2 separate regions of the Homo sapiens genome follow, and region 1 is linked to region 2. Evidence: promoter capture Hi-C in human tissues and cell types (Jung and others, 2019). All regions are on one chromosome and are shown on one strand. The core of a region is centred on a gene start or on the middle of the fragment in contact, and the rest is flanking DNA. Distances in the headings are between cores, read along the strand shown. Region 1 overlaps HERC3 (HECT and RLD domain containing E3 ubiquitin protein ligase 3). Region 2 holds the start of HSD17B11 (hydroxysteroid 17-beta dehydrogenase 11).

Evidence for each region. Contacts are between HindIII fragments. The study calls those that stand out against the background at their distance.
Region 1: a fragment that was not itself captured here is called in contact with the fragment with the promoter of HSD17B11 in region 2 in 1 of the 25 tissues and cell types used here (aorta).

Annotation. Positions count from the first base shown.
Region 1 is chr4:88,604,979-88,608,895 of GRCh38, reverse strand. It overlaps HERC3 (HECT and RLD domain containing E3 ubiquitin protein ligase 3), which reads right to left. Exons shown (of 26, transcript NM_014606.3): 3 at 2,847-3,101. The coding sequence starts at 3,072. Among named protein-coding and RNA genes, the nearest start is that of HERC3, 14 kb to the right of the region's middle. The HindIII fragment of the contact is 4,074 bases long and covers 1-3,402 here.
Region 2 is chr4:87,389,824-87,393,319 of GRCh38, reverse strand. HSD17B11 (hydroxysteroid 17-beta dehydrogenase 11) reads left to right here and starts at 2,132. Exons shown (of 7, transcript NM_016245.5): 1 at 2,132-2,459. The coding sequence starts at 2,250. RefSeq lists enhancers at 1,265-1,837, 1,851-1,920. The HindIII fragment of the contact is 3,840 bases long and covers 1-2,158 here.

The DNA of each region.
Region 1 (3,917 bases), core at 116-2,615, 1.2 Mb before region 2:
GTTCCCAAAATACTCCCTTCAAAGGCTGGCTAGAGTTGTACAAGTCCTTCAAAGATCATTGGAATGAAGTTCCTAAATCCTGGCTGAATGTAGACTGTTGGGCCATGACCCTCCAAATGCATTACTTGTTAGACACTGGCTCTGGCCTAGGGAAACAGAGGGCACATTTAGGAGCTTAATGTGAGACACAAGTGAGTTTTAACAGGAGGAAAAGAAAGAAGACTTGGTTTTTAATCTGTTCCAGTATGAAGACCATTTGAAAAAGTCAATCTTCTTCCTGCCACCTCCATGGTAGTTGTATATGATACCTTTGTATTCTATTAATTGGTAAAATACATAATAAATAGGATTTACTAATTTCTGAATTAGTGGCATTTTCAACTGAATTTTCATTTTAGTAAACAACAGAATAATTTGAAAACCTATAGTATTGAGTGCACTGTACATGGAATGGTGTTCATCTGTAGATGACTCTACAAACCCCTTCCTTGAAATCCCAAGATTTCAGGGTCCTCAGGTTAAGAAACCCCTGACTAGAACATGGGGTACTGCCCCCAGATGAGTAGGCCTGGTGCATTTCTCACAGCGGGCTTCCTGAAGGAACCTGGTGGCAAAGAATGAGGAATTGGAAGCTCATCAACCACACTTCACATCCTTCACAATTGTGCCTAAGCCCTGCAGCCCTCTTTCCAATGGGCAACATAAAAATTAACGATTATAAATTTACACTGACATTTTGGGCAGGGAAACTACGGAACATGGTCACTTACTATGGAAGGGAATAATAAACGTGAGAGAAGAGGGAGACAGTGTCACAGAAAAAATTTAATTCGTATTGATGCCAAATAAAATGATAAAATCATCTAGAAAAAACTGTAAGGTTATTCTTTAATGAAGCTTCAGTGTCTGGAATGATCTGTATTGAATGAAAAGAATGGCAGGTAACAAAAAAAGGGGCAAACACCTATGCTAGTGTGACAAATATGTGGTCACAATTTAAGACCCTACCTTAAAATTTCTCACCAAAAGAAGATTCATTTACACATCCTCACTACTAAGAGGACCTTATAAATCCATGCTACACATATACTGAAAGTCAAACTTAGATTCTTTAAAAGTAAAAATAGGGCCAGGAACAGTGGTTCGCACCTGTAATGCCAGCACTTTGGGAGGCCAAGGCAGGCAGATTGCTTGAGCTCAAGAGTTTGAGACCAGCCTGGACAACATGGCAAAACTCCGTCTCTACTAAAACAAAAATTAAAAAATTAGCAGGTGTATTGGCACATGCCTGTAGTTGTAGCTACTCAGGAGACTGAGACTGAGAGGATATCTGCAGCCTGGGAGGCGGAGGTTGCGGTGACTCAAGATGGCACCACTGCACTCCAGCCTGGGCGACAGAGCCAGATCCTGTCTCAAAAAAAAATGTAAAAATAGGTGGAAAAAAATAAAATCAACAAGCTTAAAATATGTGTAGCACCTGTTATAAATCAATTAAAAGCACTGAAATTTAAGGAAACGAATTAGTCCCCCTACCTTTCCAGCTTATCCTCTTCCATCACCCTCTCTTCCCAGTCTCACCACACTATTCAACATGCCTTGAACAAGTATTGCACCTTTATATTCACATCACTGGGTATCAGGTGTGCAATAAGCTTAGTGATGCTGCCACATTCATTCATACACCCAAGTGCACATGCATACACACACACACACACACACACACCAAAGTGCTACTCAACACCCAAAGGCAGAACCAATCTCCCCTCCCCTACACCTCTGGTGTACTCTTCAACTTACATAACACAGACTTGCATGACAGCATTTGCCATAAGGATCACTGCAGCCACATCATCACCATATCTCATTCATCCCTCCACTCATAACAGCAATCGCATTGCTTAGCACAAAACATGTAAGAGCATGTTGCAGAAACAAAGGAATGAATATAGGTAATCAGGAAGTAAAGTTTCTGATAGTGATTGTGTGAGGATTACCTATTCAAAAAACTGTCATATTTCTCAGCATTAAATTACTGGATGATATGATTTGGCTGTGTCCCCACCCAAATCTCATCTTGAATTCCCACATGTTATGGGAGGGATCCAGTGGGAGGTAAATGAATTATGGGGGCAGGTCTTTCCTGTGCTGTTCTCATAATAGTGAATGAGTCTTAAGAGATCTGATGGTTTTAAAAATGGGAGTCTCCCTGCACAAGCTCTCTTCTCTTGTCTGCCGCCATGTGAAACATGCCTTTCACCTTCTGCCATGATTGTGAGGCCTCCCCAGCCACGTGGAACTGTAAACCCAATAAACCTCTTTCTTTTCTAAACTGCCCAGTCTTGGGTATGTCTTATCAGCAGTGTGAAAACCGACTAATACAACGGGCAAAATCTATTTTATTCTAACTCTGAACTAACTAGTCACCTCCCCTCCCCAGGTAACTGATATTACATATGTTCTCTAAGAAGATAAAAAATAAAAAGTCTTGTGGTGGCGCATGTCTGTAATCCCAGCTAGTCAGGTGGCTGAGGCATGAAAATTGCCTGAACCTGGGAGGTGGAGGTTGCAGTGAGCCAAGATCTCACCACTGCACTCAAGCCTGGGCGACGGAGCGAGACCATATCTCAAAAAAAAAAAAAAAAGAAAAGAAAAGAAAAGTCTGCTTTTCCATCAAAAGGCTTGAATTAGACACAAGGGTTCCAAACAGGAAGGAATCCCTGCACCGTTCAAAAGAGCCTCCCTGAAAACCGAACACTTGGTGGAGAAAGCTCCATCTGGGCCCTCTGCCATTGTGTCCTCCAACTTTCCATTCTCACCAATAATCAAGACAGATAAGGTGCACTTACCTGGCTTGTTTCCTTCCCTCTCATGGCCCAGTTGCCCCTTGGTGTTCAAACCACATGTGTAAACTTCCCCATCTTCCAGCAGGAACACAGAGTGGTTTCCCCCACAGGCCACTTCCTTGACACTTCTGTCAGATATGAACCCACACACCTGGGGCTCAGCCACAATTCCCTGCAGGTTGGTGCTGATACCAGGTTGGCCCAGAGACCAATATCCCCAACATAACATTGTTCTTATCTTTCAGGGAATCATGTAGCCTAGGAGAGAGTTTAAAAAAATTATTTTTTAATTAAAAAGAAATAGGTCATAGAAAATCAAGTAATGAATGTAACCAATTTTAAAAATAACCCTCCCCTTAATATTCTTCAGATATCTTACAACTCAAAATAAAACATATTAATACTGTTGAAAGCAGTTATGTTATAATGATGCTATTTTGTATTTTAATCAGAGTTTAAAAAAGAAGTTTAAATAAATTGTGTTTGTTTAAATGAATGAGTAAACAGACAGAATATGGTTTTCAGATCACTGCTAAAGGATACTGAGTACAGGAGATGGGCTGAAACAATCTTGGCAAACCATTAAGTTAGTAACAGTTTTGAAATTACTCTCAAGACTTCACCTTATCCTTTCTCAATGCATCATTCCTTTGAATTTTCTGCTTATTTAATGTTTTAAAAAATTTTGAACCAATTAACTCCTTTAGGTACCCTAATATTAGATTGGTTAGTAGTATTTCACCACTTGAAGTGAAGATGAGAAATAGAAAAAAAAAATGTTATCTTCTCTGCCATTCCCTTTTACCCTTGGTTCCAGATTTGAGTCAAGCCTCACTTCCTACTTGAGAGACTCTGGGATTGTTGCAGCGACAAGTCAGCCTGCATCCCTCTGACATGTCTACTATACTGCCTAACTGGTAGCTTTCTCTTTATATCTTTATAACTTAACTCCCCAAACAGATTTTAATCTCCTTCAACAGAGACCACAGTATAACACAGACCTCTTCTATTTAGCAGGTAATCAACTTTTGCCTGATTACTGACCCTAGCCTAAAGTTTCATTACCTTTTAACA
Region 2 (3,496 bases), core at 883-3,382:
TGAAACCTTGATCAACTGTAGGTTAAAACTACCCAGTTTTTTTTAATTAATAGAATGGAATAAGAAATAGCATAGCCAGACCGTGTGCCATGGCTCACGCCTGTAATCCCAGCACTTGGGAAGACCAAGGTGGGTGGAACAGGAGATCGAGATTGAGACCATCCTAGCCAACATGGGGAAACCCTGTCTACTAAAAATACAAAAATTAGCTGGGTGTGGTGGTGCGTGCCTGTAGTCCCAGCTACTTGGGAGGCTGAGGCAGGAGAATCGCTTGAACCTGGGAGGTGGAGGTTGAGGTTGCTGTGAGCCAAGATTTCGCCACTGCACTCCAGCCTGGAGACAGAGGGAGACTCCTTTAAAAAAAAAAAAAATAGCATAGCTAGAGCCTCAATATATGAAACTCAACATAGTTGAAACACTTCTTATAGTAGATCACCATGTCAGATGTAATTTATTCCTGTAGGTGTTGGACCAAAAAATTGACAAACACTGAACATATGTGTAGCCCCAGTTACACTTTTACTCACTGTGTAGATTTTAAAGTTGATCTAACAGATTTATTCATTTACAGTATAGGTATAAATATATCCTGACTCTACTTTTCTCTATTTCCTAGGAGGCTTTTGAAAATCAAATGAAATAATATATGTGGAAGAACACTTTGTAAACTTTCTATACAAGTGTTTTGTAAATTTGGATTTGGAGGCTATCCAAAAAAAAGTTGTAGATATTCTGAATTCAAAGAATTCTATAATGGGGTTCACTTTTGTGAGGCTGCCACTATCCCTTCATCCCCTATAACAACGTATGGCTGCTTAAGTAAGAGGGACAATCGAGTTTGAACTATTTGTGAACTTTGATTTTTTTGTGTGATCTTTCTGGCTCTTAAATATGAAAGTTGACTATTGTCACACAACAAAGTCCCTTCCCAAGCACTGGAGTGTCTTGCGCAAAACCCAAATCCAATGTCTGTCAAAAATGAGTTGGAAAAAAATGCATGCAATACCATTATTAAGCTCTTACTGGACACAAGCCCTAGTTAGGTCTTTTCTTCCAGTAACCAATCTCTAGAATTTTTTCAAGTCACTAGTTAGCATATACTGAATACCCATTTATATAGGCTACAAAACCAAATGTTACATAGGTAATCTTTAGGCTAAATGATTTGCTATTTATTCACTTGAATAAAGATAAAATTCCTAAAGTACAACATATATTTTTTATTTTCAAACTCTAATAGGTCAAGTGAAAAATGATTATTCAAATATACTCTTCTTTCTTGTGGAAACAATCCCTTTAATACGATAACAATTTTTTCTGGCGCTTGATTGAAGCTGTCCTTGAACAGACAAAATTTCCCCTGTCTTCCAGAAATCGTGCTTAGTTCAAACTAAAATGTGATGTAGCGCAATTTCTCAGCTGGAAGCAGAACGATTGGTCTTTTCAGGATCCTTTAAGATAGGAATCTACATTTGCATCCTCTATCTAGTTTTTGTTTTTTAGGACAAAGTCTGGCCTTTTCGTCCAGGCTGGAGTGCAGTGGCGCGATCTTCACTCACTGTAGCCTCCACCTCCTGGACTCAAGCAATTCCCGTGCCTCAGTCTCTCGAGTAGCTGGAACTACAGGCACACGCCACTACGCCTGGCTAATTAAAAAAAAAAAAAAAGAGACCGGGGGTCTCCCTATGTTGTTCAGGCTGATCTCGAACTCCTGGGGTCAAGCGATCCTCCCGCCAGGGCTTCTCAAAGTGCCAGGATCACAGGCGAGAGCCGCCGCGCCCAGCGGCACCCCCTATCTAGTGATAAGCAACCTTCAACTATGAAAGAAGCATCTGGCCTGTGGACACTGTCGGTTATCCTTGGAACTTATCCAATTTAGGAAAACAAGTGAGCAACTAACCCTCCAAGGCCGGCTCACGACACCGGGAGAAAGTGGTGTAAAAGACAATCGCGGCCACACACCGCGTGGGGGCTGCGCAAAGCAGAACTAGGAAGCTTTGCTCCGGTCTGGACTTCGTCCCTCCCAGATCTCTGAGCTAGCAAGCACTGCAGCCCGAGCCAATTGCGAAAGACCAACAAAGCCCAGCCCAGCGGAAGGAACGGTTTCGGAGTTGTTTTTCTTTGATACGGGAGTTCCTCCTTGCTCTCGCCCCTACTCTTTCTGGTGTTAGATCGAGCTACCCTCTAAAAGCAGTTTAGAGTGGTAAAAAAAAAAAAAAACACACCAAACGCTCGCAGCCACAAAAGGGATGAAATTTCTTCTGGACATCCTCCTGCTTCTCCCGTTACTGATCGTCTGCTCCCTAGAGTCCTTCGTGAAGCTTTTTATTCCTAAGAGGAGAAAATCAGTCACCGGCGAAATCGTGCTGATTACAGGAGCTGGGCATGGAATTGGGAGACTGACTGCCTATGAATTTGCTAAACTTAAAAGCAAGCTGGTTCTCTGGGATATAAATAAGGTAACAGTGTTTACTATGTTTTACTTTCTGGTACCTTTAATTTGTGGATGTGTCTGCATTTTGCTGGCAACCACCCTTTACCTCATCTCTGCAAAGCAGGGAGGAAAAAAAAATTAGTATTGCCATTTTGCAGATGGGAGGGCATGAATTAATATGTTGTATGATCACATGATAAACAGACCTAGAGGTTATAATAGTCCCAGTTACTGCCCCATTTGTAAATTGATCCCCATTTTTGCCCTAAGGATAACTCATAATTTTTTCCTGAACCTGATTTCATTGATCCCTCTATTTTAAAAATAGGGAAAAAACAATCGTTTTAGCTATATATTAAAAGAGTAAGAAGCTTGTACCTATTAAGAGAAAGTCCTACTTACTGTTAATGAGAAAAGTGGTTTGAAAGATTATACTCGCCGTTGGCTCACGCCTGTAATCCCAGCACTTTGGGAGTCCAAGGCAGGCGGATCGCGAGGTCAGGAGATCGAGACCATCCTAACACACTGAAACCCCGTCTCTACTAAAAATACCAAAAAAAAATTAGCCGGGCGTGGTGGCGGGCGTCTGTAGTCCCAGCTATTGGGGAGGCTGAGGCAGGAGAATGGCGGGAACCCCGCGGGGCGGAGGTTGCAGTGAGCCAAGATGGCGCCACTGCACTTCAGCCTGGGCGACAGAGCTAGACTCCGTCTCAAAAAACAAACAAAAAGATTATACTCAACAGAAACCAATGCTACATTGCCATAGTTATTGCCAAGAGTAATTTTAAAAAGCATCTTTTCCGGGAGGCTGAGGTGGGGGGTTGCTTGAGCCTGGGAGGTGGAGACTGCAGTGAGCTGTAAACGCCCCACTGCACTCCAGCCTGGGTGACAGAGTGAGACCCTGTCTCAAATTTTTTTAAAAAACATTTTTTACCACGTTTGACCTGTGATACTGAAGGAGTGGCGGGAAAGCATCTTTTAGTAAAAACAATAAAAGGGAAAAAAACTTTCAGTGTAATTTTTTACCTAGGACAAGTGTAGGTGTGGCTTAGGGAGGAGAAG